5 separate regions of the Homo sapiens genome follow, and all the other regions are linked to region 2. The links are contacts of gene promoters, found by promoter capture Hi-C in blood cells and fetal thymus (Javierre and others, 2016). All regions are on one chromosome and are shown on one strand. Each heading gives the region's core, a stretch centred on a gene start or on the middle of the fragment in contact. The rest is flanking DNA. Distances are from core to core; before and after follow the strand shown. Region 1 holds the start of RNASE10 (ribonuclease A family member 10 (inactive)). Region 2 holds the start of CCNB1IP1 (cyclin B1 interacting protein 1). Region 3 has its middle 9.5 kb from the start of RNASE9. Region 4 has its middle 15 kb from the start of PNP. Region 5 has its middle 8.4 kb from the start of RNASE9.

Region 1 (2,700 bases), core at 179-2,678, 170 kb before region 2:
GGCCGGGCGGGGGGCTGACCCCCCCTCCCCCCTCCCGGACGGGGCGGCTGGCCAGGCAGAGGGGCTCCTCACTTCCCAGTAGGGGCGGCCGGGCAGAGGCGCCCCTCACCTCCCGGACGGGGCGGCTGGCCAGGCGGGGGGCTGATCCCCCCACCTCCCTCCCGGACGGGGCGGCTGGCCGGGCGGGGGGCTGACCCCCCCCACCTCCCTCCCGGACGGGGCGGCTGGCCGGGCGGGGGGCTGACCCCCCCACCTCCCTCCCGGACGGGGCGGCTGGCCGGGCGGGGGGCTGACCCCCCACCTCCCTCCTGGACTGGGCGGCTGGCCAGGCGGGGGGCTGATCCCCCCACCTCCCTCCCGGACTGGGCGGCTGGCCGGGCAGAGGGGCTCCTCACTTCCCAGTAGGGGCGGCCGGGCAGAGGCGCCCCTCACCTCCTGGATAGGGCGGCTGGCCGGGCGGGGGGCTGACCCCCACCACCTCCCTCCCGGACGGGGCGGCTGGCCGGGCAGGGGGCTGACCCCCCCTCCCCCCTCCCGGACGGGACGGCTGGCCGGGCAGAGGGGCTCCTCACTTCCCAGTAGGGGCGGCCGGGCAGAGGCGCCCCTCACCTCCCGGACTGGGCGGCTGGCCGGGCGGGGGGCTGACCCCCCCCACCTCCCTCCCGGACGGGGCGGCTGGCCGGGCAGATGGGCTCCTCACTTCCCAGTAGGGGCGGCCGGGCAGAGGAGCCCCTCACCTCCCGGACGGGGCGGCTGGCCGGGCGGGGGGCTGACCCCCCCCCACCTCCCTCCCGGACGGGGTGGCTGCCGGGCGGAGACGCTCCTCACTTCCCAGACGGGGTGGCTGCCGGACGGAGGGGCTCCTCACTTCTCAGACGGGGCGGTTGCCAGGCAGAGGGTTTCCTCACTTCTCAGACGGGGCGGCCGGGCAGAGACGCTCCTCACCTCCCAGACAGGGTTGCGGCCCAGCAGAGGCGCTCCTCACATCCCAGACAGGGCGGCGGGGCAGAGGTGCTCCCCACATCTCAGACGATGGGCGGCCGGGCAGAGACGCTCCTCACTTCCTAGATGGGATGGCGGCGGGGAAGAGGCGCTCCTCGCTTCCTAGATGGGATGGCGGCCGGGCAGAGACGCTCCTCACTTTCCAGACTGGGCAGCCAGGCAGAGAGGCTCCTCGTATCCCAGACGATGGGCGGCCAGGCAGAGACGCTCCTCACTTCCCAGACGGGGTGGCGGCCAGGCAGAGGCTGCAATCTCGGCACTTTGGGAGGCCAAGGCAGGCGGCTGGGAGATGGAGGTTGTAGCGAGCTGAGATCACGCCACTGCACTCCAGCCTGGGCACCATTGAGCACTGAGTGAACCAGACTCCGTCTGCAATCCCGGCACCTTGGGAGGCCAAGGCTGGCGGATCACTCGCGGTTAGGAGCTGGAGACCAGCCCGGCCAACACAGTGAAACCCCGTCTCCACCAAAAAAGTACGAAAACCAGTCAGGCGTGGTGGCGCGCGCCTGCAATCGCAGGCCCTCGGCAGGCTGAGGCAGGAGAATCAGGCAGGGAGGTTGCAGTGAGCCGAGATGGCAGCAGTACCGTCCAGCTTTGGCTCGGCATCAGAGGGAGACCGTGGAAGGAGACCGTGGAGGGAGAGGGAGAGGGAGAGGGAGAGGGAGAGGGAGAGGGAGAGGGAGAGGGAGAGGGAGAGGGAGCAAACTCACTTTTTCATCCTTATGATTTGTCTATATATTCTTTTGGGGTTTCTAAACACAGACACTGTTTCATGGGTGAATCAATCAGAGTTTTACTTTTTCTTGTCTGGCACTGGAGCTCTTTCTTTGTCCTACCCTACAGCATTGGCTGAGACCTCCAGCACCATAACTTGTAGAACCGCAGATCAAGGCACTTTCAGGATTCACATTCAGTGAGGTTTGCCAGAGTTACTTCTGCTCCTCTAGCAATTGATCAGATAACGCTTTTTCATTATTCTTGTTGTATTCGCTGGATACACGCTGCTTGAGCTTTGGAGCCTCGCAGTGGTGTGTACGTGTGGCGGGGGCTGGCCTGTGAGCTCCTCTCCGCTGCTGTCCTTGCTGGGTTAGGGACTGAGGCTACGTTGGCCTCAGGAGCTGGTGAGTGCTCCCTTGTCTTTCTGGAAGAGTTTTGTGGACGTGCATTACTTTCCCTGTAAATGGTTGGTAGAATGCTGTGGTGATGCTGTCTGCGCCTGGAGTTCTTTGTGAGAGAAGGTTGTAATGACAGATTCCTTTTTTTTTTTTTTTTTTTGAGACGGAGTCTCTCTCTGTCGCCCAGGCTGGAGTGCGGTGGCGCGATCTCGGCTCACTGCAAGCTCCGCCTCCCAGGTTCACGCCATTCTCCTGCCTCAGCCTCCCAAGTAGCTGGGACTACAGGCGCCCGCCACCGCGCCCGGCTAATTTTTTGTATTTTTTAGTAGAGACGGGGTTTCACCGTGTTAGCCAGAATGGTCTCGATCTCCCGACCTCGTGACCCGCCCGCCTCGGCCTCCCAAAGTGCTCGAAAATTTATTAAAAAATTATTTATTTTAAAAAAGAGAGAGGACTTCCATGTTGTTCCTTGAGGCACCCAACACCTCTGTGACTTACGTACATGCATAAGCAGCTGCAGAGATTCTTGTGTCCTCTCGTTCCCCAAGTTCTTCCCTCCCAGGGTTTCCTTCTTCGTGAGCAG
Region 2 (2,700 bases), core at 96-2,595:
GGTGGAAGCAGGGTGGATAGGATGAAATGATTAAAAAATGAGAACTACTATGAGTTAGAGTTGTATCATTTCTCCATATAACTTGAATCTTTATACTTCAAACATTTGCACATTACATGTATATTTGTACATATAACACATACTTGTATATATATTCCCTATTACTATAATAGTATTTATTAAGAATAATGATGAATATTGTGCCGGGGAGTCCTCTAATTATGGCTTAAAAAGAAATCTTTCAGCTTGGGCAACATGGCGAAACCCCATCTCTACAAAAAAATACAAAAATTAGCTGGGTGTGATGGTGCACGCCTGTAGTCCCAGCTACTTACTGAGGCAGGAGATCGCTTGAACCTGGGAGGTCAAGGCTACAGTGAGTCGAGATTTCACCACTGCACTCCAGCCTGGGACACGAAGTGAGACCCTGTTTCAAAAAAAAAAAAAATTTAACAGAGTAAGAACCTATACTTTAACTGGAGGGCGATGTGAGGAGTCAAAATAATTGATTAATCAATTATGTCCTCAGCATTGAAAGTCATTGTTTTTGTCTGGAGATGTGTAAAACGTACACTTTGATCTCCAGTTGTTTATAGTCTACTTGGGAATATAAATCTAACAAGAAATATGTAATAACAATAATAACAGCTAACATTGTTGAGTACTGTGTACCGGGCATTGTACTGAGTACATTATATAAATTATTTTACTTAATCCTCATAACCATCAGAGTAGGAAGATTTCATCTTTTTTCCCTCTTTTTATAGTTGGAACTGAGGCTTAGATGTGTGCAAATAAGTGGCAAGGTTCAGATTCAAAATCAGCTAAATTTTATTTGAAGCCTAAAACACTTAACCCACCTACCTTTTATCTACTAAGCCTGTTAGTTCAAAGATTACCTGAAGGTAAATTTTATCAGGCCAGCTTTGGATCTGGGGGGAAAAAATGAAGGTAAATTTTAACTTGAATCGATCTAGACTGTTTATAATGGAATCTGTTGCCTAGCATAAGTTAAGCATGTTGAGGTCACAAAGGATAAGAAATTACCCTTAAGGGATGAAAATTCTTTAGAATAGAATGCAGTAGGCCCACGCAAACAACAACGTGTATAAATAGCTTAAATTAGCCTGTTTTTGCCTAAGTACATTAACTCAAAAGGAAACTCGGTTTAAGAAGTTCACTCCAAAAATAGTGCAAGAAGCATCACTGGTCCATAAAGAGGGGTGGAGTGGGTTACGTCATTTCAGCACCTTTTAAGGTAAAGGAGGAGGGAATCCTCTTGAACTCATTAGCCAATCAGGTTCTGAAGACACTTCCCAAGGCGACTTCCTGTCTCTCCACTTTCTTTCCCTCTCCGTTTTGGTGGGCTGGTGAGTGTGCGCTTAATTTTGCTCTCTAATTGTTTTGAATTTCTCTTCCATTTGAGTTATATACCCAGGTGGCAGGCCTTTATTTCAAGTCGGCATAGGAGTGTGTGTGAGTCGCAAGGAGATTAATTTCGGCTGTGTGGAGGTTGGGAGAAGGCAGTGAAATGCTCTTCCTGGCTTGTTTCCACGTGGGCCTCTGCAGTACTGGGTTTGCCTTCCGTCTCCGAGTCCTGGTGACCCAGGAACAATAGACTGTGCTTCATGTGCACAGTGCGTGTGTTCTTGGAAAACGCCGGCTTCATTTTGCTTGGCGGGAAAGATATTATCATCCTAATGCTGTTTTGATTTATATCTCCCTGGGTGAGGTCAGATTTCGGGAGAAGGCGTTCAGCTCAGTAGAGTTTAATTCTCCGGTGAGTGTCTAGAGGGCCCAGGTCCTTACTGGGTTTGTGGAAGCTGCAGCGTACCTTGTCTTTCTCCTGGCCTTCGCTCAGATCATTTCGGCTTTCTTGGTGAACCTGGGCAGCAAACTCTGAAGACAGATAAGCCTTAAAAGGAGCTCCTAATTTTTAATGTTGCCACTGTGGTGATTGTGTCCTTAAAAGCTATGGAAAAAGATTAGGGACCTTAGTTCAGGGCAAGCCTCTAGATTTAAATTCCAGCGCCACAGTTTACAGCTCTGGTGACCTTGGGAGAAGCAGTGAGCCATTCCGAGGCTTAGCTTTCCAAGATCAGATAAAATATATAAAAACTAGGCTCTAGTTGGTGTGTAATAAATGTTAGGTACCTTTAGAAGTAAGCAGTACTTATTTATTTACAGCAAGTATTTTGGATATCTGTTTTCTCATAAAAAGTTTGCTTAGTGACCTTCAATGTCATTTCACTGAATTCCTTTCTTTTGGTACATGTTAATTTTAATGTGATGTTTGTGTTGGATATTCTTATAGGCAGAAAGTGTGAGAAAGACAAATAATAAACCAGTTAATCGAATGTAGTAATAGGTATTTGTAGGCCTCCCATAATTTTTATAATTCTCAAGCATTGTTAAAATTTATTTTTTGGGGCATGGCGGCGCATGCCTGTAATCCCAGCTACTCGGGAGGCTGAGGCAGGAGAATCGCTTGAACCCGGGAGGTGGAGGTTGCGGTGAGCCGAGATCGCGCCATTGCACTCCAGCCTGGGCAACAAGAGCGAAACTCTGTCTCAAAAAAAAAAAAAAAAAAAAAAAAATATATATATATATATATATATGTATACACATCATATATATATATATTTTTGAATAGGTAATACATTCACATGGTTCAAAATTCAAAAGATATCAAAGTTTCTT
Region 3 (2,700 bases), core at 114-2,613, 220 kb before region 2:
TCATCAATACTTCTTTTTTTAATATCTAATAGCAATTTCAATGGATATGAAGTGGCGATGCAACACTAACTTTAAATTATACTTACTCAGTGAAAGAATGTAGGCAAAGCATTCCCAAGAGTAAGAAAAACTATAAACACAGCATTTTGTTTCCTAACCAGAATAAACCCAATTGGTATTCTCTTTGAAAATTTCTGATGTCTATGATGTTATTGATTAAGTAAATAGGAGAAAAGTCTAGCCCAATGAACAGACAGCACAGTTGCTCCCGTCCCTTTGTGTTAGTGGAAGTTGCGAGACAAAGTAGTAAATGCCATTTTTGCTCATTTCTGCTTGCCAGCATAATTTCACAAAGCCCCTCACTCTATGACAACCTGCAGCTCTTTGAGAAGAATGTTTGAAGATACCACAGAATAGAGTGCACGGTCCCCATGCTCCGTGTCTGTTTACCTGACTCACTATATTCCTAAAGATAAATTACACCAGTCCTTGCGTTTTCTTACGCATAAAATAAGGTCTGACCAGGTTAGTGATTATACTCCTGTAATCTATAACCAGATGTACTCTTACACCCAAACCTTGATGTGATTCTGCTTTAATGTAACTTCTGAGCAAATTTGATGTGATTTCACATATACTGAATCTTTACCACCTGTAAATTGTCAACTAAAATACTGCATGGGAGCCATCTAATAGAACCCCTCTAAAGGGCTGCTCCTGGGCTATAGGCCTCCCAGCCTGTAGACCTCAGTAAGACTTCTGAATAAAACTAATTTTAATTATTTAAAAGTTGGATCTTTTTTTTCTTTAGTTGACAGGATTCTCCAGGGGAACAGCATCAATAGGATAGGTATACGTAAGGGAATTTTTTAGGGAGAATTGGCTCACATGATTAAAAGCGAAGTCCCACAATAGGCCGACAGGCCATATGCAAGCTAGAGAATGACAGAAGCTGGTAGCAAGCAAGGTTGTTAGAGAAGCTGGTCTGAGGCTGAAGGCCTCAGAGCTGCCACAGGGTGGGAAGGTTGTGGGGAGCAAGCAGTCAATTGAATGGTGCCTGCCCACATTGAGGGCAGGTCTTCCTCTCTCAGTCTCACCTGCCAGTCTCCTCTGGAAACTGCCTCACCTGCCAATCTCCTCTGGAAACACCCCCACAGACACCCCCAGGAACAGTGCTTCACCAGCCATCTAGGCATCCTTCAACCCAATCAAGCTGACACCTAATTTAACCATTCACACCTTTCTATTCTAGCACGATATTCTTAGATGACATTAGGAAAAGAATAAAACCAAAGCTACTAACTATCCCTGTGCTGCTCCTTGAAAATTGGTGATGCTAAATTGAACCCTATTCATTTGCCCTGTAATATTTTGGTACAAAGTTGAATTAATATTCCTGATAAATTCAGAGCCAATAACTTTTATTCATATATATATATATGTATATATTGTAGCAGTCACAATACCTCACACAGTATCTTCTCTATAATATAAAATTTTCGAAGTGTTTTTATATACCCTTTCACTGTTCATCATTACCTCTTGTGTCACAAGTAAGGGGATCATATTCTCTGTCCACTGTTTCCTATTTTTCCTGTCACACAACAAATAAGGATTAAAAAATGAAATCACATATTTTATCCCAATCTTTCTTCTCTTTCTCTAAGATGGATCTTTCTCACATGTCTCTGACATAAGATCATGACATTTGTGAACTGTCATATTTTTAGAAACACAAGGAAGCAGTGGCTCATCCCTTCCTCATCACATCTGATGCATTCATTGCATAATTTGCATTGAATACAAGAAGAAATATTCCACCTAAGTTTCCATAGTTGAAAGATTACAAGAGCTAGTCATCAATATCAAGTTCTTCTTGAAAGATCAAAGGAGATACCTGGAGCCTTTGGAGCGTGCTTCGAGTCCTATCAAACTGAAGGTAAATTAGTCTTTAACCAAGTGAGATTTTGAATTCAGGGGCATTTCCCATAAGATAGAATGATGACACTGACATGTTTTCCAGCTACTAGATTATAACTTCAAGTGAACAAGAACATTCGCAGTGATGGGTATATACACAAATGTGCTGCCTTACTTAATTCAAAATATTCAAATATTTGACATTATTCCATTGTCAAAGATTTTCTTCCTTCTCTTTTTAAAATATGTTCATTACAAGTGGGTACAAGCAACTCACCACTTCAATATACACCCTAGTGTAATAATGCCCTAGTATTTCCATAACGAAATGCATAGTATTTCAAGCATTCTCTCATTCTTTTCTATCCTCAATGCCTAATGCCTGCCACTTAATATTCAATAAGTATTTTTAAATGAACAAATACATTACATATAATACAGAATTTTCAATTATATAAACATTTTGATGAACTAATTTTTTACCCATATTCCACAGCATGCACTGTGTTCATTGTTCAGGTGAGAGATCAACAAAGGGGAGAGCAGCACATTTTTGGATTTTCCATATTGGTCTAGGAACCTGTGCAGCAAACATCAAAATAGAGAGTGGGCTTCTAAGGAGGAGGGAACATTAAGAATATGAAAGGGAGGAATTTCAGGAGAAAATAAGAGTAAGAGAATGAGGGATTTTACCCTGCTTGAGAGGCAGGATGGAAGATGACCAAGGGTTGGACATGAAAAGAACTCTAAGGAGGTGTTTACAACAGGAAGAAGAGTAAG
Region 4 (2,700 bases), core at 188-2,687, 150 kb before region 2:
TCTTTCATGCTCAAAATAAAACCTAAACTTATCATGACCTACAACACCTGCCTTCATCTCCAGCCTTATCTACCATCACCATTCCCCTTGTTCAGTCTACTCTAATAGCACTGGCCTTCTGTTACTGCTAAATTGTTAAGTTCCCTAAGAACTTGTATGTTTGCTTGCACACTCATCTCTAATCACTGCATCATTCACGCCCTCATTTACTCAGGTCTCTGCTCAACTGACAGCTCCTTGGAGAGGCCTTCCCTGAACCAACCTATTTGAAATCACTCACCCTTTTATCACTTTTTTTTTAAAAAAAACTGCCTTGGCTGGGCGCAGTGGCTCACGCCTGTAATCCCAGCACTTTGGGAGGCCAAGGGGGTGTATCACCTAAGGTCGGGAGTTGAACACCAGCCTGACCAACACGGAGAAACCCTGTCTCTACTAAAACTACAAAATTAGCCAGGCATGGTGGTGCATGCTTGTAATCCCAGCTACTTGGGAGGCTGAGGCAGGAGAACCGCTCAAACCCAGGAGGCGGAGGTTGCGGTGAGCAGAGATAGCGCCATTGCACTCCGGCCTGGGCAACGAAAGCAAAATTCCATCTCAAAAAAAAACCAACCAACCAACCAAACAAACAAACAGAACAGCCTTAGTGAGCTGTATTTCACGTATCATAAAACTCACTCGTTTCAAGTGCAAAATTCAATGATTGTTATCATTTTATTTAGTGTTGCAACAATCACGTAGATCAGTTTTGGAACATTTTTATCCCTTAAATAAGATCTCTATGCCCATTATATTAATCCCCATCTCAACACTAAGCCCCAGAAAACCATTAATCTACTTTCTGTCTCTAGAAATTTTTCTGGATATTTCATATAAATAGAATCACATAATACAGATTTGTATCTGGATTATTTTATTTAGCATGTTTTTGAGGTTCACCCATGACATAGCATGTGTCAGTAGTTTGTTCTTTTTTATTAATGAATAGTATACCATTGTATAGATTTACATTTTTTCTTTCTCTCTTTTTTTTTTTAAGACAGGAGTCTCGTTCTATTGCCCAGGCTGGAGTGCAGTGGCATGATCTCAGCTCACTGCAGCCTCCATCTCCCTGGTTCAAGTGATTCTCATGCTTCGGCCCCAGAGTAGCTGGGATTACAGGTGCATGCCACCATGCCTGGCTAATTTTTTATTTTTAGTAGAGACAGGGTTTTGCTATGTTGGCCAGGCTGGTCTTGTACTCCTGGCCTCAAGTCATCCACCCGCCCCAGCCTCCCAAAGTGCTGGGATAACAGGCACAAGCCACCACACCCAGCCTAGATATACATTTTTTAAACAATCCATTTACCAGTTGATGGGCATTTGGGATGTTTCCAGTCCTTATTATTTTAAAAGTTGCTGTGGACATTTGTGTGTGTTTGTGTGGTTATGATCTTAATTCTCTTAGGTAAACAGCTACAAGTAGAAATGATGGGTCATATGGTAGTTTTGTGCTTTGCCTTCTGAGAAACTGACAAACTGTTTTCCAACTGGCTACACTATTTTACATTTCCACCAGAAAGTGGAAATTCCACAATTTAAAAAGATTCTTGTTTTTCTGCGTCCTTACCAACATTTGTTAATGTGTGTCTTATTTATTATAGTCATTTTAGTGAGTGTGAAGTGGTATCTCATTGTAGTTTTAATTTGCCTTTCCTTCCTCTATTACCTTCTATCCTCTTTATTTTTTTCTTAACACTTATTATTACCTTAGGTTTTTAAAAACATTTCTGTTTATTGGTTGTCGCACTCCCCTAATTTAATGTAAATACCATGAAGGCAGAAACATTGTCTTGTTCTTCTCCATATCCCTAACCCCTAGAACGTTTGTTGAGTAAGTAAATAAACATATCCTTCTCATGTGTTCATCTCTTCTTGTTCAGCAGCCTAGAAAGATACACTTGATAGGTGCCCTGTCTGGGATATTGAAAAGCTGAAAAGCTCAGCTTCTTCAAGTTTGCATGGGCAGATGACAGTTTATAAGTTGTCAATTTTGGATTTTGCATACATGTATATATGTACACATATGTTTGCAGATGTATATGCACACACACACACACACACACATCCTGGCATTTCTATATGAGGCTTAATACATCTGATTATCAAAAGGACAAAGTTCAAAGCAAATGCAGAAAAAAAAATGAATGAGCGTAAGCGCAATACAGAGTTGTCAAGTAAATGTTATGGTTATCTAGAAACTGAATGGCCATTACATTTACAAATGTCAATACTAGGTGCAGATTGATAGCAAGACCTGACACAATGTCACTTGAATAAATCAAACAAGGTTATTTATCCAAAGAGCACAGCATAAATTCAGCTCAGTCAAAAAAGTGAACACATTTTCCAATTCAGACAGAAGCATATCTTCACTCCAACATCTTCACTAAAAGTGTGTGCGTTATTACTGAAAACTCCTAAATGGGTGAGAAGACTCTGCAGAAATTTAGTCTCTCTTGGTCCAGCCTATCTGTGCTCATAAACAAGTGTGAATCTGCCTAGAGCCCCTCCTTGGGCAGAGGTATCTCATGTGTGTAAGGGTTATATAATGACAGCACTATTGCCCGGTCTTAGAGAACAGTTTGGTTCTCTAAGGCATCTCTCTCAGACAGTATATCCTGGTCTGAGAACATTCCTGAACTCGGTATTGTGGAACTGAAG
Region 5 (2,700 bases), core at 32-2,531, 240 kb before region 2:
GAAGAGTAGTTATCTGCAGAAGATGGCAGGGCCTTGCTCCAAAATCCTAGAGGCCTCCACTGTGATTAACATATGGGACCTGTCAAAGGTTCCAAACAGCATCCCTATCTACCACTGACACCTCAAGCACCATTAGATCTGCTGGGTCATATGGCCCAAGTGGCAGAGCAGCTTGCACAGCAGCCTGGACATGTTGCAGGGCCTTCTCCTATTCTGCTCTAAACTGGCAGCATTTGGGGTCACTCAACAAATGGGCTGGAGTAACACACCCAAATGAGGAATGTGCTGCCTCCAAAATCCAAATAGGCCCACTAGGCATCGTGCTTCTTTCTTGGTTGCAGGAGGGGCCAAATGAAGCAACTTATCCTTCACCTTAGAAGGACTATCTTGACAGGCTGCACACCACTGGACCCCTAGAAATTTTACTGAGGTAGAAGTTCCCTGAATTTTAGTCAGATTTATTTCCCATCCTCTGGCATGCAAATGTCTCACCAATAAGTCCAGTGCATTTGCTACTTCTTGCTCACTGGATCCAATCAGCATAATGTCATCAACATAATGGACCAGCAGTGTGATATTTTGCAGAAGCAAAAAGCCATCAAGGTCTCTTCGAATAAGATTATGACACAAAGCCAGAGAGCTGATATACCCCTGAGGTAGGACAGTAAAGGTATATTGCTGGCCTTGCCAGCTGAAGGCAAATTGCTTCTGTTGGGCCTTATGGACAGGAATGGAGAAAAAGGCATTTGCCAAGTCAATGGCTGCATACCAGGTATCAGGAGATGTGTTAATTTGCTCAAGCAATAAAACCACATCTGGTACAGCAGCTGCAATTGGACTCACCACTTGGTTAAGCTTACGATAATCCACTGTCATTCTTCAAGATCCATCTGTCTTCTGCACAGGCCAAATGAGAGAGTTGAATGGGGATGTGTTGGGAATCCTCACCCCTGCATCTTTCCATTCCTTGAAGGTGGCACTAATCTCTGTAATCCCTCCAGGAATATGATATTGTTGTTTATTTACTATTTTTCTAGGTAGAGGCAGCTCTAATGGCTTCCATTTGGCCTTTCCCACCATAATAGTCCTCACCCTACCAGTCAGGGAGCCAATGTGGTGTTCTCCCAGCTGCTAAGTATGTCTATGCCAATTACACATTTTGGCACTAAGGAAATGACCGTAGGATGAGTCCGGGGACCCATTGTAAGTGGGACCTGAGCTAAAACTCCATTAATTACCTCACCTCCATAAGCCCCTACTTTAACTAGAGGACCACAGTGACGTTTTGGGTCTCCTGGAATCAACATCAGCTCAGACCCTGTGTCCAGTAGTCCCCAAAATGCCTGATCATTTCCCTTTCCCAGTGTACAGTTACCCTGGTAGAAGGCTGGAGGTCTCCTTGGGGAAAGATAGGAGAAAGATTCACTGCATAAATTGTCAGTAATGTAATGACTTGGCCTCTGCCACCTCAGGATCCAATCATTCCCACTGTATTTAAATTTTGTAGTTGAGTGACTGTGGTTCCCACTGTTAGACCTGACATGCAGAGAAGAGCAAGTACAGGGCTCTTCAAAGATGCAGATGCTGCCATTACAAATCTATTTTGCAAGACATTGGTCAAGGGTATATCTTCTGGACCCTCCAAGCTGGGATGAGTAGGTCTAAAGTGATGAATCCACTGCACCATCCCAATCTCCCTAAGCTTTTGGATCCCTTCCTCTACATTAAACCAAGGGAGATCAGGCATTTCCAGCTTGCTTGCAGTGGGCCATCTTTTAAACTGTATTTCAGCTAACCAAGTAAATAAACTATTAGAACCCTTTTTAACTCCCTGAGCTGCAATGTTAAATGCACAGTCTCTACTTAGTGGGCCCAAATCAATAAATTCAGCCTGATCCAGCTCTATGTTCCTTCCACCATTATCCCATACCCTTAATATCCGTTCCCATTCCCTCCAGGCTGCCGTTTATATAAATTAGAGAACTCAAGCAGTTCTTTTCAAGTGTAGCATACCTCCTCATGGGTCGCACTCTGAACCTCACCTCTAGGGGCCCACTGGGACTTTAGTCTAGTTACAGGTCTAGAAGCAGATAGGAGTGTTAGGGGTGGCTCCTGAGGAGAATCAACATTATTTTGACTGGCAACTGCCTCATGGGGGGCCATCAGTGTTGCCTCAGACAGCACAGGGTTTATCTCCTCAGACAAAGGTGGAAAGGCTGATAGCAGCATGGGTTGGGGAGGGGATGTTGCCACTACTGGGGATGAGAAAGCTGTATCTTCTGGCAAAAATGGTTCATCAGCGTTTACAAACTCAGTGTCCCCAGCTTCATCAGGGTCCTCCCACACGTCCTCATTCCAAGTTGCAGGGTCCCATTCCAGCCAATGCCCTCACTTTAACAGTAGACACCTGGTAAGGCTGTGCATGCCCCTTTTGTGGCAGTTCAGCCACTCGCATGATAAAAGTCTGTGTCTGTTTTTTCACAATTTCACCTCTTTTTCTACAGGAGATAAGACTCTCACTCAAAGCAATCTTAGTAGATTTGAGGCTCAGTATCTGCTTCTGAAGCTGAGAGACAGAATCCTTGAGTTCATAATTTTCTTTCATCACTTTATCCACTGAACTTAGGAGCAACTAACAGCTTCATCATGTTCCTTGGCTCTCCACATACAGTCAAAGGTATTATATATAGAGTCACTAAG

What was found. Contacts are between HindIII fragments. The CHiCAGO score rates a contact against its expected background, and 5 or more counts as called.
Region 1: a contact is called between the fragment with the promoter of RNASE10 here and the fragment with the promoter of CCNB1IP1 in region 2, in 2 of 17 cell types (M0 macrophages and M2 macrophages). The highest score is 6.0, in M0 macrophages.
Region 3: a fragment that was not itself captured here is called in contact with the fragment with the promoter of CCNB1IP1 in region 2 in 10 of 17 cell types (naive CD8 T cells, activated CD4 T cells, erythroblasts and 7 more); the score reaches 9.4 in naive CD8 T cells.
Region 4: a fragment that was not itself captured here is called in contact with the fragment with the promoter of CCNB1IP1 in region 2 in 2 of 17 cell types (naive CD4 T cells and fetal thymus); the score reaches 5.8 in naive CD4 T cells.
Region 5: a fragment that was not itself captured here is called in contact with the fragment with the promoter of CCNB1IP1 in region 2 in 1 of 17 cell types (activated CD4 T cells); the score reaches 5.5 in activated CD4 T cells.

The regions. Positions count from the first base shown.
Region 1 is chr14:20,504,265-20,506,964 of GRCh38, reverse strand. It overlaps RNASE10 (ribonuclease A family member 10 (inactive)), which reads right to left and starts at 1,428. Exons shown (of 2, transcript NM_001386206.3): 1 at 946-1,428. The HindIII fragment of the contact is 24,242 bases long and covers 1-2,700 here.
Region 2 is chr14:20,331,924-20,334,623 of GRCh38, reverse strand. It overlaps CCNB1IP1 (cyclin B1 interacting protein 1), which reads left to right and starts at 1,345. Exons shown (of 7, transcript NM_021178.5): 1 at 1,345-1,370. RefSeq lists an enhancer at 1,266-1,575. The HindIII fragment of the contact is 11,464 bases long and covers 1-2,700 here.
Region 3 is chr14:20,550,188-20,552,887 of GRCh38, reverse strand. No RefSeq gene overlaps it. Among named protein-coding and RNA genes, the nearest start is that of RNASE9, 9.5 kb to the left of the region's middle. The HindIII fragment of the contact is 3,221 bases long and covers 1-2,700 here.
Region 4 is chr14:20,482,894-20,485,593 of GRCh38, reverse strand. No RefSeq gene overlaps it. Among named protein-coding and RNA genes, the nearest start is that of PNP, 15 kb to the right of the region's middle. The HindIII fragment of the contact is 4,099 bases long and covers 1-2,700 here.
Region 5 is chr14:20,568,072-20,570,771 of GRCh38, reverse strand. No RefSeq gene overlaps it. Among named protein-coding and RNA genes, the nearest start is that of RNASE9, 8.4 kb to the right of the region's middle. The HindIII fragment of the contact is 847 bases long and covers 858-1,704 here.